2 separate regions of the Homo sapiens genome follow, and region 2 is linked to region 1. The links are contacts of gene promoters, found by promoter capture Hi-C in human tissues and cell types (Jung and others, 2019). All regions are on one chromosome and are shown on one strand. The core of a region is centred on a gene start or on the middle of the fragment in contact, and the rest is flanking DNA. Distances in the headings are between cores, read along the strand shown.

Evidence for each region. The method cuts DNA at HindIII sites, captures the fragments that hold promoters and counts their contacts. A contact is called where the count stands out against the background at its distance.
Region 2: a fragment that was not itself captured here is called in contact with the fragment with the promoter of CNGA1 in region 1 in 1 of the 25 tissues and cell types used here (lymphoblastoid cells).

What each region holds. Positions count from the first base shown.
Region 1 is chr4:48,013,468-48,021,137 of GRCh38, reverse strand. CNGA1 (cyclic nucleotide gated channel subunit alpha 1) reads left to right here and starts at 4,457. Exons shown (of 11, transcript NM_001379270.1): 1 at 4,457-4,655. It overlaps NIPAL1 (NIPA like domain containing 1), which reads right to left and starts at 4,366. Exons shown (of 6, transcript NM_207330.3): 1 at 4,253-4,366. The coding sequence starts at 4,298. RefSeq lists silencers at 3,731-3,890, 4,181-4,510 and an enhancer at 4,275-4,776. The HindIII fragment of the contact is 8,867 bases long and covers 1,213-7,670 here.
Region 2 is chr4:48,054,825-48,062,494 of GRCh38, reverse strand. No RefSeq gene overlaps it. Among named protein-coding and RNA genes, the nearest start is that of NIPAL1, 42 kb to the right of the region's middle. The HindIII fragment of the contact is 4,706 bases long and covers 2,515-7,220 here.

The DNA.
Region 1 (7,670 bases), core at 3,208-5,707:
AGTTATGTAACTGCTAAAACCAGGGCCAAGTAACCCAATTCCCAGCCAGCATTCTATTTCAGAAAAATAAAAACATAAAGTACAAGAAAAAGCCAGTTGAAATTTATTATTCATGTTTATATAAGGATGAAATGCTTTAAATAATTTGTCAAATATTTGCCTATAGAGAATAATAATATAAATTTAAATAATAATTTAAATTATCCAGTTTATTACATGGAATAGAAATCTGGTTTTAAGAAAGTCAATAATTGTATAAAACTACCTTTTTAATCACCGCAAGATATTTCCAGTTGGGGGTCTCACCATCTATTCTACTGTGATAGTTTGGATTATTATTCATTCAGTATTCAGCCCCTTACCTTTCCCAATGTGGGCAAAGGTGCTTCACCTGATGTTGGGCTGGAAGTAAGTTGGTGGCCAATGGGAAGTCAGCAGAAGTGATATGAAGCTAGATTTCAAAGATGCTTATGTGGTTGGGTTTACTCATTTGCATCTCTGTAATTCCCTGAGGAGCTGCTGTCCCTTCAGCCTCTGCACCCAAATGAAGACACATGGAGCAGATCTGAGCTCATCCCACATGAAGGAGCCAAACCCAGGTGGACATTAGCCTGAAGCAGAGACATATAGGTGAGCCCCATCTAGATCAGTCAACCTTCAGCTGACCTAGAAACCTAAGCAAGAATATGTGATATACCTGCCTATTCATATTAGCATGGGAATGACTGAATGAAATCTCTTTATATCTGTTACAATTTATTCTCCAAACGCTAACCAGTGGGAAGTAGGTTATATCACTCCCTGGCTTAATACTCCCTGTCCCCTGTCATGGTTTTTCATCTCAACTTACAACAAAATCTCAACTCCTCACTAACTTTGAACTTTAAAGCTTCTCATGCTCTGAAACTGGCTCGTCTCTGACATCATATTGCATTACTCTCCCTCTCACCCCTCTCTGAAACACTAATCTTCTTTTCCTTCATTCAACAAATATGTATGGTGTACTACCTGTTGGGCATTTTCTAGAATCTGGAGATAGAAAAATGAATACAACAATGGTCCCGCTCTCTTATATTCCAGTGGGGGCAGATAGGATTAACAAACAAATAACTATACGTATGTTAAGAGTGCCATAGCAAGTAGTAAAAGCAGCATCAAGGAATATATTTTTTAAAACAGGATTAAACAAAAGAGCCTCTCTGCTAAGTCTAAAAGCAGAAACCCTGAGGGGTTGAAGAAACTGCAGTCAGCCAGGTTGCCTGGGGTGACAGAAAGGGAGATGGTATGAGATGTGGCTAAAGAGTAGGTGGGAGAAGGATCAGGTGAAATGAACCTTTAGACAAGTAGGTCTGATCTTGTCATTCCTCCTTCCAAAACTCCACAAGGGCTTCCCTTCTCATTCCGAAAAAAATCCAAAATTCCCACTATAGCCTATAAGGCCCTGTGGAATCCTGTCTCCAGCTGCCTAACCTCATTCCCTACTATTGCCTTTTCTTCTGTTCCTTTCATAGAATAAGTTCCTTCTCACCTTAAGCTTTTTAAAAAGCAGCTGTTCCTGAGCCTGTTACAGAGTGCTGGCTGGCATAGCTAGCTTCTTCTGAGTGAGAGGACTAAGCAACTCAGAGAGGCCTTTCCTGCCTTCCCAATCTAAAGGAACCTCTCAGTCACTTTCCATCATATGTTCCCAATCAAATAGACTTCCTCATATGGCTTAATTACAGCTTTATAACAACCTTCATACATATTTGCATTTGTTTCTTTTAAAGATAATTTTGGATTAGAGACTCTTTTGAAGCATCTATAGCTTTAAAAGTCAAAACCAATGTGGGGTGGGGGATGGCTCATGCCTGTAAACCCAGCACTTTGGGATGCCAAGGTAGGAGTATCACTTGAAGTCAGGAGTTCAAGACCAGCCTGGTCAACACAGTGAAACCCGTATTAAAAATACAAAAATTAGCTGGGCATGGTGGCATGTGCCTGTATTCCCAGCTACTTGAGAGGCTGAGGCAGGAGAATTGCTTGAACCCAGGTGGAAGTTGCAGTGAGCTGAAATTGCACCACTGCATGCCATCCTGGGTGACGGAGTGGCACTCCGCCTCAAAAAAACAAAAAAAAGTCAAAACCAAAGTATGAAATTAACTTTTTCTTCATGGAAGTTCAACTGGAATGTTCTATCTTCAGATCTCATGACTGACCCCTTGTCATTTGGGTCTCAGCTTGAATATCACTTTCGTAAGGGGCTTTCATTGAATACCCAATCTAAACATCCCAACACTCTTGATACATTACTGCTATTATAATGATCTTTTAAATTACTTTGTTTCTTGCATAGTAGCTGCCATCTGAACAGTAAGGTGCCTGAGAGCAGGAACCTAGTCCTAGAGTCTGGGACCAGACTGTCTTGCAGATCCCTCTATCCCAGCACCTATGCCAGTGCTTGGCACATGGGACTCTTGTTATTTGAATGAACAAGTGAAAAATTGAGTCTTTGTTTACTCCATGTCAAGCTCTGAGTGGTGTAGTTCATATGTAATCCCACCTGCACCTACTCTTCAGAACTGTAAACTGGAGGGATGACCCCCAATTTATAGACAGGAAAATGCTCAAGGAAGCTAAGTTACAGCTCAGACTGTCTGATGCCAAAGCCTAATCTCTTCCCACTACTAATAACGTGCATTCAGATTTCTAAGTCTTTCTCACCAGCTTTTCACACAATTAATTACCATGGTTAATCACAGGTATTAAGCCTGGAGCTTAAATGTTTCTTGTTGGAACTCAATGCATAAGCAAAGCAGGAAAAACATCCAGAAGCTCAAACAAGTGGGTGTAATTCATATACCTTCCTTACTTACAGATCCTTGGGTAAACAAGTGTGGGTGTGTTAGTAACTGTCAGATTTGCTGGGTTAGAAATTATTTAGAAAAAGGGCACACAACCTGACTCTCTAGGAAATAATTCTAGATTCAGCTGCCTTAAAATTTTTGTTTTTTAATAGTTTGTGAGTTGTTCAGGCGTTATTGCTCTTTTTCAGAAAAAAAGACTAGAAAATAATTCTAGATCCAGCGGCCTTAAAAAATTTTTTTTAATAGCTTGTGAATTGTTCAGGCATTTTTCTCCTTTTTTTGGTGTCCCTTCTCTTCCTTGCTAGCATGGTTTGGACGAGCTCACTTGTTAAAAAGGAATAAGCTGGAAGAGTCAAGAGGAGAGGAAACTAGGGAAGTTGCGAGCACCTTTGCAAAGGTGTATATGTATATACATATATATATATATATATGTGTAAGGGAACTATATATATATGTGTATATATATAGTAGTTCTTACCATGCCTTTCACTGCCTCCCTTCCCCTTTACTGCATTATCAGGTAAATTAAAAAGCTGCTTTCCCCTTGGTACGGCGAAAACCATCATTTCAATGTATCTACATCCTTCCAGTCGCTCCCCCTACCCCCTTCCCTACTTTTATCGGGGCCTTCTGTATGGAGACTGCAGAAAACCCGCCAGTGTTGCGAACACTTGGCGAAGGGCAAGGAGCCTCGCCCAGAGATTTCACGGGGCTCAGGTGAGAAGCAGTAAGAAGAGCCTGCAAACGAGTGCTCCCGGTTCCAGGTTTCCTCTCCAGTACGGCTCTCGCCTTAAGCAGCCAGAGTGACTGCACAGCGAGTCAGACAGGCTCATGGGTTTGGAGACCTTTTCATTTCCAAGGAAGAGGAGAGACGTGGGCGGCCCAGACTTGCCCAACGCCCACCCCCGCGGCCCCGGGCGCCCAACCTCTCGCGGTGCTCGATCCCCGGGAGCCAGCGCAGGGCGCAGCGCAGAACTCCCACGGGCCCCCCAGGCAGACACGCCCTCTGCCCACCGGGTGACGTCGGCCGCAGACTCTGGAAGGGAGCCTGAGTCAGAGGAAACGTCCTTCTCAGAGGGACTCGGGATTCTTCCCATAGCATCCTGAGTTTCCCCGTCCCACACGCAGCACGCGGTAATTTACACTGGTCGGCCTCGCGAATCGAGTGGGAGTCCCACCTGCCTTATTCCACTCAGGTTTTCCAGCACAGCCCGAATCGCCTAGGCACCCATAAATAAGTGTTGAACGCCTGGCTGGACGGCCGACTGACTGAATGAATGAATGAGTGAACGACTACGTTTAGAGTCGGTACAGCCCCCCTTTCCAGTCTCCGCAAGTGTCCGGGGACCGCCCACCCGGTCTCTTCGCCACCCAGCTGCCAGGTCCCTCGGCTCAGGGCAGACACAAACCTTCTCGGCAGGGCTCTCCGGGCGGCAGCCTCACCTGTGCCCCCATGGCCCCGGGAGCGGGCTTCCGGAACGCGGGCGCTTGCTCCTCACCTGGGCCTCTCCACACGCACCCGCGGCGGGCGGGGCTGCGGGGTCTGGGAATGGGGCGCCCTGACCCCGCCCCCGGGGCAGCCTCCGCCAATGGGCATGGCCAGGCGGGGCCTCAGCGCCAGCCGAGCCCTGCTGCCCGGGGCTTGTTGCGAATTCTCAGGGCCCCCGCAGGCCTGGGAGCGGCCTGTGATAACTGGTGTATCTGGCAGGAGTAGCAGCTGCCCCTTGGCGCGACTGCTGGAGCCGCGAACTAGAGAAACACAGACACGCCTCATAGAGCAACAGCGTCTCTCGGAGCGTGGAGCCCGCCAAGGTAACTCCGGGAATTGAGTGGAGTGGAGGCTGCACTGAGGCCCCCTTCTGGCTCCTCTCTGGTCGAAAAGGCTCCCCCGCTAGAGAGAGCCCTGCTGCTTTTGGAAGCCTTCAGGTGTTAGTTGCTTTGCACCGAAGCTGCTGACTGCTGGGGTTCTGCGCCGATTGCCAGGCTCAAGTTTATTTTGGGGGCTGCTGAGCAGACTTTGCCCTTCTGTGCTGTTATCAGCTTCTGTCGCTGTCCGTCCACGCCCGCTATATCCATCCACTCTCCGTTCTGTCTCCAGCAGGCAACTCCCCCTACCCTGCCCCATTTTCTGGGTCATAGGGGTATTTGAAATAAACCTTTAAGGGAAAAGCAATGCCAAAACTGGAAAGACTTATTTCCACGAATTATTAATAACTAATGTTTATGATATCCTTGTTATACCATACATATGCAGGCACATTATGTATTAATTAAATCTCACAGCAGTCTATTAACGCTCAGTTTACAGATGAGGGATTAGAGGCAAAGAGTGAGGTTAAGTAACCAAACCAAGGTTGGAAGACCTGATAGCAGGTATTTACAAAACAAGGAGTGGGCAGGGCTGGCGGGTGGCTCACCCCTGTAATCACAGCACTTTGGGAGGTTGAGGCGAGTGGCTCTCTTGAGTCCACAAGTTCGAGACTAGCCTGGGCATCATGGTGAAACCCTGTCTCTACAAAAATTAGCCAGATGTGGTGGTGTACTCCTGTAGTCTCAGCTACTCAGGAGGCTGAGGTGGGAGGACGGATGACTTGAGCCCAGGAGGTGGAGGCTACAGTGAGACATGATCGAACCACTGCACTCTAGTCCAGGCAACAGAGTGAGACCCTGTCTCAAGAAAAAAAAAGGTGAGGGGTGGGGTAGTGAACAATTCGGGCTCAAACCCTCACCAGGGAGAACTGGGGTGCCTTTGTGCTCTGGCATTTTAACACTGAGGAAAATATTCTCATGTACTCAGGTAGCCTTTGTTCTAAGTAGGCATGAACAGTGCTATTAATTTTATTACCTAAGAGTTTCATAGCAGAGGCCTCAATCTTGTTTTTCTTGTTCTTAGGCGGATGAGAGAAGAGCTAAGAACAAATTAGTCAACATACCAGTCCAAGGCACCCACTTTTATAATACATATGGATGACTTTGCAGAGAAGGAACACCACGGAGAGTGGAATAGGTGAAAGTTGAAAGCGAGGGAGATTTATGCCAATTTTCCATAACAAGCCTTAAAACTTAGACTTCTTTTTGTTTGCTTGTTTGTTTGTTTGGCTTGGTTTGGTTTTTTTTGAGACGGAGTCTCGCTCTGTCGCCCAGGCTGGAGTGCAGTGGCGCGATCTCGGCTCACTGCAAGCTCCGCCTCCTGGGTTCACGCCATTCTCCTGCCTCAGCCTCCCGAGTAGCTGGGACTACAGGCGCCCCCCACCACGCCCGGCTAATTTTTTGTATTTTTTTTTTTAGTAGAGATGGGGTTTCACCGTGTTAACCAGCATGCTCTCAATCTCCTGACCTCGTGATCCGCCTACCTCGGCCTCCCAAAGGGCTGGGATTACAGGCGTGAGCCACCTAGCCCGGCCCAAAACTTAGACTTCTATTTAAACGTTTTCTTTGGATTTCCAACTTAAAATTTTGTCTTTATCAAAAATTAGTAATGATGGTAAACGTGATCTATGGTGCTTATTTTTTATTTAACAAACACTTGGATAGCATTTACTATGTGGCAAGCACTATTCTAATCTCTTTGTAAATATTTGCTTTATAAATCTTCATGAAAATCCTGTAAGGTAGATACTACTACCCCCACTTTACAGCTGAGGAAATGGAGGCACACAAAGATTGAGTAACTGGCCTATGCACACATAACCAGTAAGTGTGGAACCAAGATGCTAACCAAGAAAGCTGGGCTTCAAGTATGTGCTCTTAACCCATTTGGTAATTGGACATTAAAAAACAAAACAGACTTTAAAAAATGTATCTTTATTGAATTTCAGTTGCATATTAAGGTCTACTTTAGGTAAGAGGCATTTTGTTGTAGTTCTTGCTTTTCAATTCTGAAAATAAAGAGAAAAAATTCAGAAAAAAAATATTTAAACTCATTTAAGACCACTGCTTTTCCAGTTTAAATGTTGCCTAGCAGAAATTTATAATATGTATTTTCCTTCATTGATAATTTCTAGATGACTTTGGGGAATACCGTTATAGTACCACACACTGTCTTTAATGACATAAAGTTGGGGGATATTTATTCCCCCGCAAAATCATGTTGTTTGTTTAACTAAAAGAAGAGCATTAAAAAAATCTCCAACTAGCCCATTCTTTGATTCTAGGAAAATTACTCTTCTGACTCAAAAATTAGAATGCGATAATAACTGAGACCCTCTAAAATGCCAACTTCTGTTTTATTGGTCTTTGTGCTAGGACACTTAGACCCAGGGGTGATGGTCAAAATAAATAATGATTAGTAGAGCCTTAGGGCCTCAAGGGACAAGGCCACAGGTCTTTCGAGCTTGGGGAGGTCTGGGAGGGTTCCTGGTGTGTCAAGGTTAACCCCTGAGTTGCTACATTGTAGGGAGGTCTGTGGTTTCTGGGGCAAGGAATAAGATGACTAGACAAGAGGGGTGGTAGCTGGGGAGTAGAAACCACCTTTGCAAAAATTATATCACTGAGAAAATTTTAACAGTAAGCTGAGTAATTCATCCTCCATCTTGCCTTTCCCTTAATTATTCCTGGGTTATTGAGTTGTGAAAGAAAATCAATAGTGGAGCCCCCAAATCACTAAGCTAAAGGGAAAAGTGAAGCTTGGAACTGCTTAGGGCCAACCTGCCTCCCATTCTATTCAAACTCACACCTCTGCTCACTGACATATCTGATCGCCTCCTTTGGAGAGGCTAGTCAGAAACTCAAAATAATGCAACCATTTGTCTCTTATCTACCTATGACCTGGAAAGCCCCGTCCCTGGTTCCAGTATTCCTGCCTTTGCTTTGAGTTGTCCCGTCTTT
Region 2 (7,670 bases), core at 3,618-6,117, 41 kb before region 1:
TATGGGTGCTTTTTTGATTCCATGTGAAATTTAAATTAGTTTTTTCTAATTCTGTGAAGGAAGTAAATGGTGTCTTGATGGGAATAGCATTGAATCTATAAATTACTTTGGGTGGTATGGTCATTTTCACGATATTGATTCTTCCTATCCATGAGTGTGGAATGTTTTTCCATTTGTTTGTGTCCTTTCTTACTTCCTTGAGCAGTGGTTTGTAGTTCTCCTTGAAAGGGTCCTTCACATCCCTTGTAACTTCTATTCCTAGGTATTTTATTCTCTTTATAGCAATTGTGAATGGGAGTTAGCTCACGATTTGGCTCTCTTTTATTGGTGTGTAGGAATGCTTGTGATTTTTGCACATTGATTTCGTATTCTGAGACTTTGCTAAAGTTGCTTATCAGCTTAAGGAGTTTTTGGGCTAGGATGATGGGGTTTTCTAAATATGCAATCATGTCATCTGCAAACAGAGGTAATTTGACTTCCTCTCTTCCTATTCGAATATCCTTTATTTCTTTCTCTTTCCTGATTGCCCTGGCCAGGACTTCCAATACTACTATATTGAATAGGAGTGGTGAGAGAGGGCATCCTTGTCTTGTGCCGGTTTTCAAAGGGAATGCTTCCAGCTTTTACCCATTCAGTATTATACTGGCTGTGGGTTTGTCATAAATAGCTCTTAATATTTTGAGATATATTCCATCAATACTTAGTTTATTGAGTGTTTTTATCATGAAGGGGTGTTGAATTTTGTTGAAGGCCTTTTCTGCATCTATTGAGATAATTATGTGGTTTTCGTCATTGGTTCTGTTTATGTGATGGATTAAGTTTATTGGTTTGTGTGTGTTAAACCAGTCTTGCATCCCAGGGATGAAGCTGACTTGGTCGTGGTGGATAAGCTTTTTAATGTGCTGCTGGATTCAGTTAGCCAGTATTTTATTGAGAATTTTCGCATCGAAGTTCATCAGAGATATTGGCCTGAAATTTTCTTTTTTTTGTTGTGTCTGTGCCAGGTTTTGGTATCAGGATGATGCTGGCCTCATAAAATGAGTTAGTGGGGAGTCCCTCTTTTTCTATTATTTGGAATCGTTTTGGAAGGAATGGTACCAGCTGCTCTTTGTACCTGTGGTAGAATTTGGCTGTGAATCTGTCTGGTCCTGGGCTTTTTTTGGTTGGTAGGCTATTAATTACTGCCTCAATTTCAGAACTTGTTATTAGTCTATTCAGAGATTCTACTTCTTCCTGGTTTAGTCTTGGGAGGGTGTATGTGTCCAGGAATTCATCCATTTCTTCTAGATTTTCTAGTTTATTTGCATAGTGGTGTTTGTAGTATTTATTCTCTGATGGTGGTTTGTATTTCTGTGGCATCAGTGGTGATATCTGCTTTATCATTTTTTTATTGTGTCTGTTTGATTCTTCTCTCTTCTTTATTAGTGGTCCATCTATTTTGTTAATCTTTTCAAAAAAAACAGCTCCTGAGTTCACTGATTTTTTTGAAGGGTTTTTCATGTCTCTATCTCCTTCAGTTCTGCTCTGATCTTAGTTATTTCTTGTTTTCTGCTACCTTTTGAATTTGTTTGCTGTTGCTTCTGTAGTTCTTTTAATTGTGATGTTAGGGTGTCAATTTTAGAACTTTCCCACTTTCTTCTGTGGGCATTTAGTGCTATAAATTTCCCTCTAAACACTGCTTTAGCTGCGTCCCGGAGATTCTGGTATATTGTGTCTTTGTTCTCATTGGTTTCAAAGAACTTATTTATTTCTGCCTTAATTTTGCTATTTACCCAGTAGTCTTTCAGGAGCAGGTTGTTCAGTTTCCATGTAGTTGTGCAGTTTTGAGTGAGTTTCTTAATCCTGAGTTCTAATTTGATTGCACTGTGGTCTGAGAGACAGTTTGTTGTGATTTCTGTTCTTCTGCATTTGCTGAGGAGTGTTTTACTTCCAATTATGTGGTCAATTTTGGAATAGGTGTGATGTGATGCTGAGAAGAGTGTATATTCTGTTGATTTGGGGTGGAGAGTTCTGTAGATGTCTATTAGGTCCACTTGGTCCAGAGCTGAGTTCAAGTTCTGAATATCCTTGTTAATTTTCTGTCTCATTGATCTGTCTAATGTTGGCAGTGGGGTGTTAAAGTCTCCCACTGTTATTGTGTGGGAGTGTAGGTCTCTTTGTAGGTCTCTAAGAACTTGCTTTATGAATCTGGGTGCTCCTGTATTGGGTGCATATATATTTAGGATATATATTATATATATATATGTATGTATGTATGTGTATATATATATGTATAATCACCGAGAAGTTAGCTCTTCTTATTGCATTGATCCCTTTACCATTATGTAATGCCCTTCTTTGTCTTTTTTGATCTTTGTTGGTTTAAAGTCTGTTTTATCAGAGACTAGGATTACAACCCCTGCTTTTTTTGCTTTCCATTTGCTTGGTAAATCTTCCTCCATCCTTCCTCCATCCCTTTATTTTGAGCCTATATGTGTCTTTGCACATGAGATGGGTCTCCTGAATATAGCACACCATGGGTCTTGACTCTTTATCCAGTTTTCCACTCTGTGCCTTTTAATTGGGGCGTTTAGCCTGTTTACATTTAAGGTTAATATTGTTTTTTATGAATTTGATCCTGTCCTTTTGATGCTAGCTGGTTATTTTGCCCATTAGTTGGTGCAGTTTCTTCATAGTGCCCCGTGAGTTCTATTGTTCTTTCCCTTTCAGGATGAGCTGCTGCTGGTCCTCTGCTTCTGTCGGGCATAGAGATCCCCCTCACAGGAGTCCTCCCTGCTGATCATGGGCTCAGTCCCCAGGTCCTAGCCACTGCTCTCTAGAAAGCCATATCCCTTAGTGCTCAGCCTCTCACACATTCCGGGACCACTTTCCCATTCTCGGTGCTGTGGAGCTTGGGCCTTGACTCTTGAAACAAAATTATTTTGACACTTGTTAAAATGATATGGGAGACTTTATTTGAGAGTATTTCAAATAGTAGAGAGAGACTGAACTCAGCTCTGACTACAGCAAAGACAGCTGGGGACAGTAGATATGAAATAGTAGAGGGATTTTTGCTAAACTGGCTTAACAAGATTCTAACTAAAGGCAGGTCAAGGACTAAGATATTAAGATATCAAGGATGAGGAATTTGATCAGATAACAAGGGCTGGGGACTTCTTGCTAAACTGAGTTAGCAGGATTCTTGCTAAAGCCAGGCCAAGGATGGACCTAAGATAAGGCCTAGATAAGAAGAGGGCTCGTAGAAACGTTAACTAAAATTTGATCAAGAGGGGAATCTGTTACCATCCCTCATATTAGCTGCCAGTCTCAGGAAAGCCAGCCTCTCGCCTCCAGATCAGCACATTTCTGTTTCATCTTTAAGCACCACCCTCAACCCACTCTGGATGTCACAAAATGATATCCAGATTGTCTTCACTGGATCTAAGTCTCAAACACTATTTTCATTCTGGGGAACTTAGGTGTTATAAGAAGCACAAACCTTGTGAATCACAATCCTGCCTTTTTTTCCTGGCATGAGAGTGGGGAAGGAGAGGCTTTATTACTTACTTTTTGATGAACTTCCAAACTTTCAAAACCAAATGAAATGTCTTTTTATCAGTGAGTTGCTTTTCTCTTAAAAACATACGCAGTTCCTTTACCCATATTGTACTTGTGCTCTTTCCTGTGTCTGCCTTGAATTGTGTTACCATGGGAACAACTTGTAGACACTAGCAACACTGAGGGTGCAAGTAGGGGCAATATGCTTTTCAGGTTTCCTAACGACAGGGTGTGTGGTATGTGCAAGGTCAGTTTCTCAGCTCTCTTTGGAGAATCTTCTTCATTCAGACTCTAGTTTCTCCAGATCCAAGTGTTCTTGGATCTCAGCACAGTTCACATTTTGGGCTGGATAATTGTTTGTTGTAGGAGGACGTGCTGTGTGTTGGAGGATATTTAGTAGCATCTTTGGCCTTTACCCATTAGATGCCAATACCCCTCCCCCAGGAGAAACAACCAAAAATGTCTCTAGAACATTGCCAAATGTCCCCTGGGGGATGAGAACCACTGATTTCATTACCAAAGGATCTTGCCCTGGGTTTAAGGAGGTCCATGGACTTGGATGGAGAAAAAATTACATCTTTATTTTTATTAATCTCTAAGCTTTAGCATTTCCCATAATTCTAAATGTGAATTCATATTTAGAATTCTAAATGTGAATTTACATTTAGAATTATGGGAAAAAACAAAACTCTAGTACTTTCTATAAGCAGTTTCTGTGACTGTCAAAATATGAAAAACTATTATTTTCATATCATGGGAGATTTTTCAACTTTCTCAATTTACATTCATCACTACTTCAAAGTTGCGATAGTTTTTAGAACTGTCACTAGATCTTGTCATTTAACACAATAAAAAAGACATATTATGAAAACACATTTGTTTTTTAAATATTTTGATAACTTTATGTCAATATAATTGGTTTCCTATTTAGTTCTATGTAATTCTATTTTATGCATTTAAAAACATTATTCCAGGGAGGAGCCAAGATGGCCGAATAGGAACAGCTCCGGTCTACAGCTCCCAGCGTGAGCGACGCAGAAGACGGGTGATTTCTGCATTTCCATCTGAGGTACCGGGTTCATCTCACTAGGGAGTGCCAGACAGTGGGCGCAGGCCAGTGTGTGCGTGCACCGTGCGCGAGCCGAAGCAGGGCAAGGCATTGCCTCACCTGGGAAGCGCAAGGGGTCAGGGAGTTCCCTTTCCGAGTCAAAGAAAGGGGTGACAGACGCACCTGGAAAATCGGGTCACTCCCACCCGAATATTGCGCTTTTCAGACCGGCTTAAAAAACGGCGCACCACGAGACTATATCCCACACCTGGCTCAGAGGGTCCTACGCCCACGGAATCTCACTGATTGCTAGCACAGCAGTCTGAGATCAAACTGCAAGGCGGCAACGAGGCTGGGGGAGGGGCGCCCACCATTGCCCAGGCTTGCTTAGGTAAACAAAGCAGCTGGGAAGCTCGAACTGGGTGGAGCCCACCACAGCTCAAGGAGGCCTGCCTGCCTCTGTAGGCTCCACCTCTGGGGGCAGGGCACAGACAAACAAAAAGACAGCAGTAACCTCTGCAGACTTAAGTGTCCCTGTCTGACAGCTTTGAAGAGAGCAGTGGTTCTCCCAGCACGCAGCTGGAGATCTGAGAACGGGCAGACTGCCTCCTCAAGTGGGTCCCTGACCCCTGACCCCCGAGCAGCCTAACTGGGAGGCACCCCCCAGCAGGGGCACACTGACACCTCACACGGCAGGGTATTCCAACAGACCTGCAGCTGAGGGTCCTGTCTGTTAGAAGGAAAACTAACAACCAGAAAGGACATCTACACCGAAAACCCATCTGTACATCACCATCATCAAAGACCAAAAGTAGATAAAACCACAAAGATGGGGAAAAAACAGAACAGAAAAACTGGAAACTCTAAAACGCAGAGCACCTCTCCTCCTCCAAAGGAACGCAGTTCCTCACCAGCAATGGAACAAAGCTGGATGGAGAATGATTTTGACGAGCTGAGAGAAGAAGGCTTCAGACGATCAAATTACTCTGAGCTATGGAAGGACATTCAAACCAAAGGCAAAGAAGTTGAAAACTTTGAAAAAATTTAGAAGAATGTATAACTAGAATAACCAATACAGAGAAGTGCTTAAAGGAGCTGATGGAGCTGAAAACCCAAGGCTCGAGAACCACGTGAAGAATGCAGAAGCCTCAGGAGCCGATGCGATCAACTGGAAGAAAGGGTATCAGCAATGGAAGATGAAATGAATGAAATGAAGCGAGAAGGGAAGTTTAGAGAAAAAAGAATAAAAAGAAATGAGCAAAGCCTCCAAGAAATATGGGACTATGTGAAAAGACCAAATCTACGTCTGATTGGTGTACCTGAAAGTGATGTGGAGAAGGGAACCAAGTTGGAAAACACTCTGCAGGATATTATCCAGGAGAACTTCCCCAATCTAGCAAGGCAGGCCAACGTTCAGATTCAGGAAATACAGAGAACGCCACAAAGATACTCCTCGAGAAGAGCAACTCCAAGACACATAATTGTCAGATTCAACAAAGTTGAAATGAAGGAAAAAATGTTAAGGGCAGCCAGAGAGAAAGATCGGGTTACCCTCAAAGGAAAGCCCATCAGACTAACAGCGGATCTCTCGGCAGAAACCCTACAAGCCAGAAGAGAGTGGGGGCCAATATTCAACATTCTTAAAGAAAAGAATTTTCAACCCAGAATTTCATATCCAGCCAAACTAAGCTTCATAAGTGAAGGAGAAATAAAATACTTTATAGACAAGCAAATGCTGAGAGATTTTGTCACCACCAGGCCTGCCCTAAAAGAGCTCCTGAAGGAAGCGCTAAACATGGAAAGGAACAACCGGTACCAGCCGCTGCAAAATCATGCCAAAATGTAAAGACCATCGAGACTAGGAAGAAACTGCATCAACTAACAAGCAAAATCACCAGCTAACATCATAATGACAGGATCAAATTCACACATAACAATATTAACTTTAAATATAAATGGACTAAATTCTGCAATTAAAAGACACAGACTGGCAAGTTGGATAAAGAGTCAAGACCCATCAGTGTGCTGTATTCAGGAAACCCATCTCACGTGCAGAGACACACATAGGCTCAAAATAAAAGGATGGAGGAAGATTTACCAAGCCAATGGAAAACAAAAAAAGGCAGGGGTTGCAATCCTAGTCTCTGATAAAACAGACTTTAAACCAACAAAGATCAAAAGAGACAAAGAAGGCCATTACATAATGGTAAAGGGATCAATTCAACAAGAGGAGCTAACTATCCTAAATATTTATGCACCCAATACAGGAGCACCCAGATTCATAAAGCAAGTCCTGAGTGACCTACAAAGAGACTTAGACTCCCACACATTAATAATGGGAGACTTTAACACCCCACTGTCAACATTAGACAGATCAACGAGACAGAAAGTTAACAAGGATACCCAGGAATTGAACTCAGCTCTGCACCAAGCGGACCTAATAGACATCTACAGAACTCTCCACCCCAAATCAACAGAATATACATTTTTTTCAGCACCACACCACACCTATTCCAAAATTGACCACATAGTTGGAAGTAAAGCTCTCCTCAGCAAATGTAAAAGAACAGAAATTATAACAAACTATCTCTCAGACCACAGTGCAATCAAACTAGAACTCAGGATTAAGAATCTCACTCAAAGCCGCTCAACTACATGGAAACTGAACAACCTGCTCCTGAATGACTACTGGGTACATAACGAAATGAAGGCAGAAATAAAGATGTTCTTTGAAACCAACGAGAGCAAAGACACCACATACCAGAATCTCTGGGACGCATTCAAAGCAGTGTGTAGAGGGAAATTTATAGCTCTAAATGCCTACAAGAGAAAGCAGGAAAGATCCAAAATTGACACCCTAACATCACAATTAAAAGAACTAGAAAAGCAAGAGCAAACACATTCAAAAGCTAGCAGAAGGCAAGAAATAACTAAAATCAGAACAGAACTGAAGGAAATAGAGACACAAAAAACCCTTCAAAAAATCAATGAATCCAGGAGCTGGTTTTTTGAAAGGATCAACAAAATTGATAGACCGCTAGCAAGACTAATAAAGAAAAAAAGAGAGAAGAATCAAATAGACACA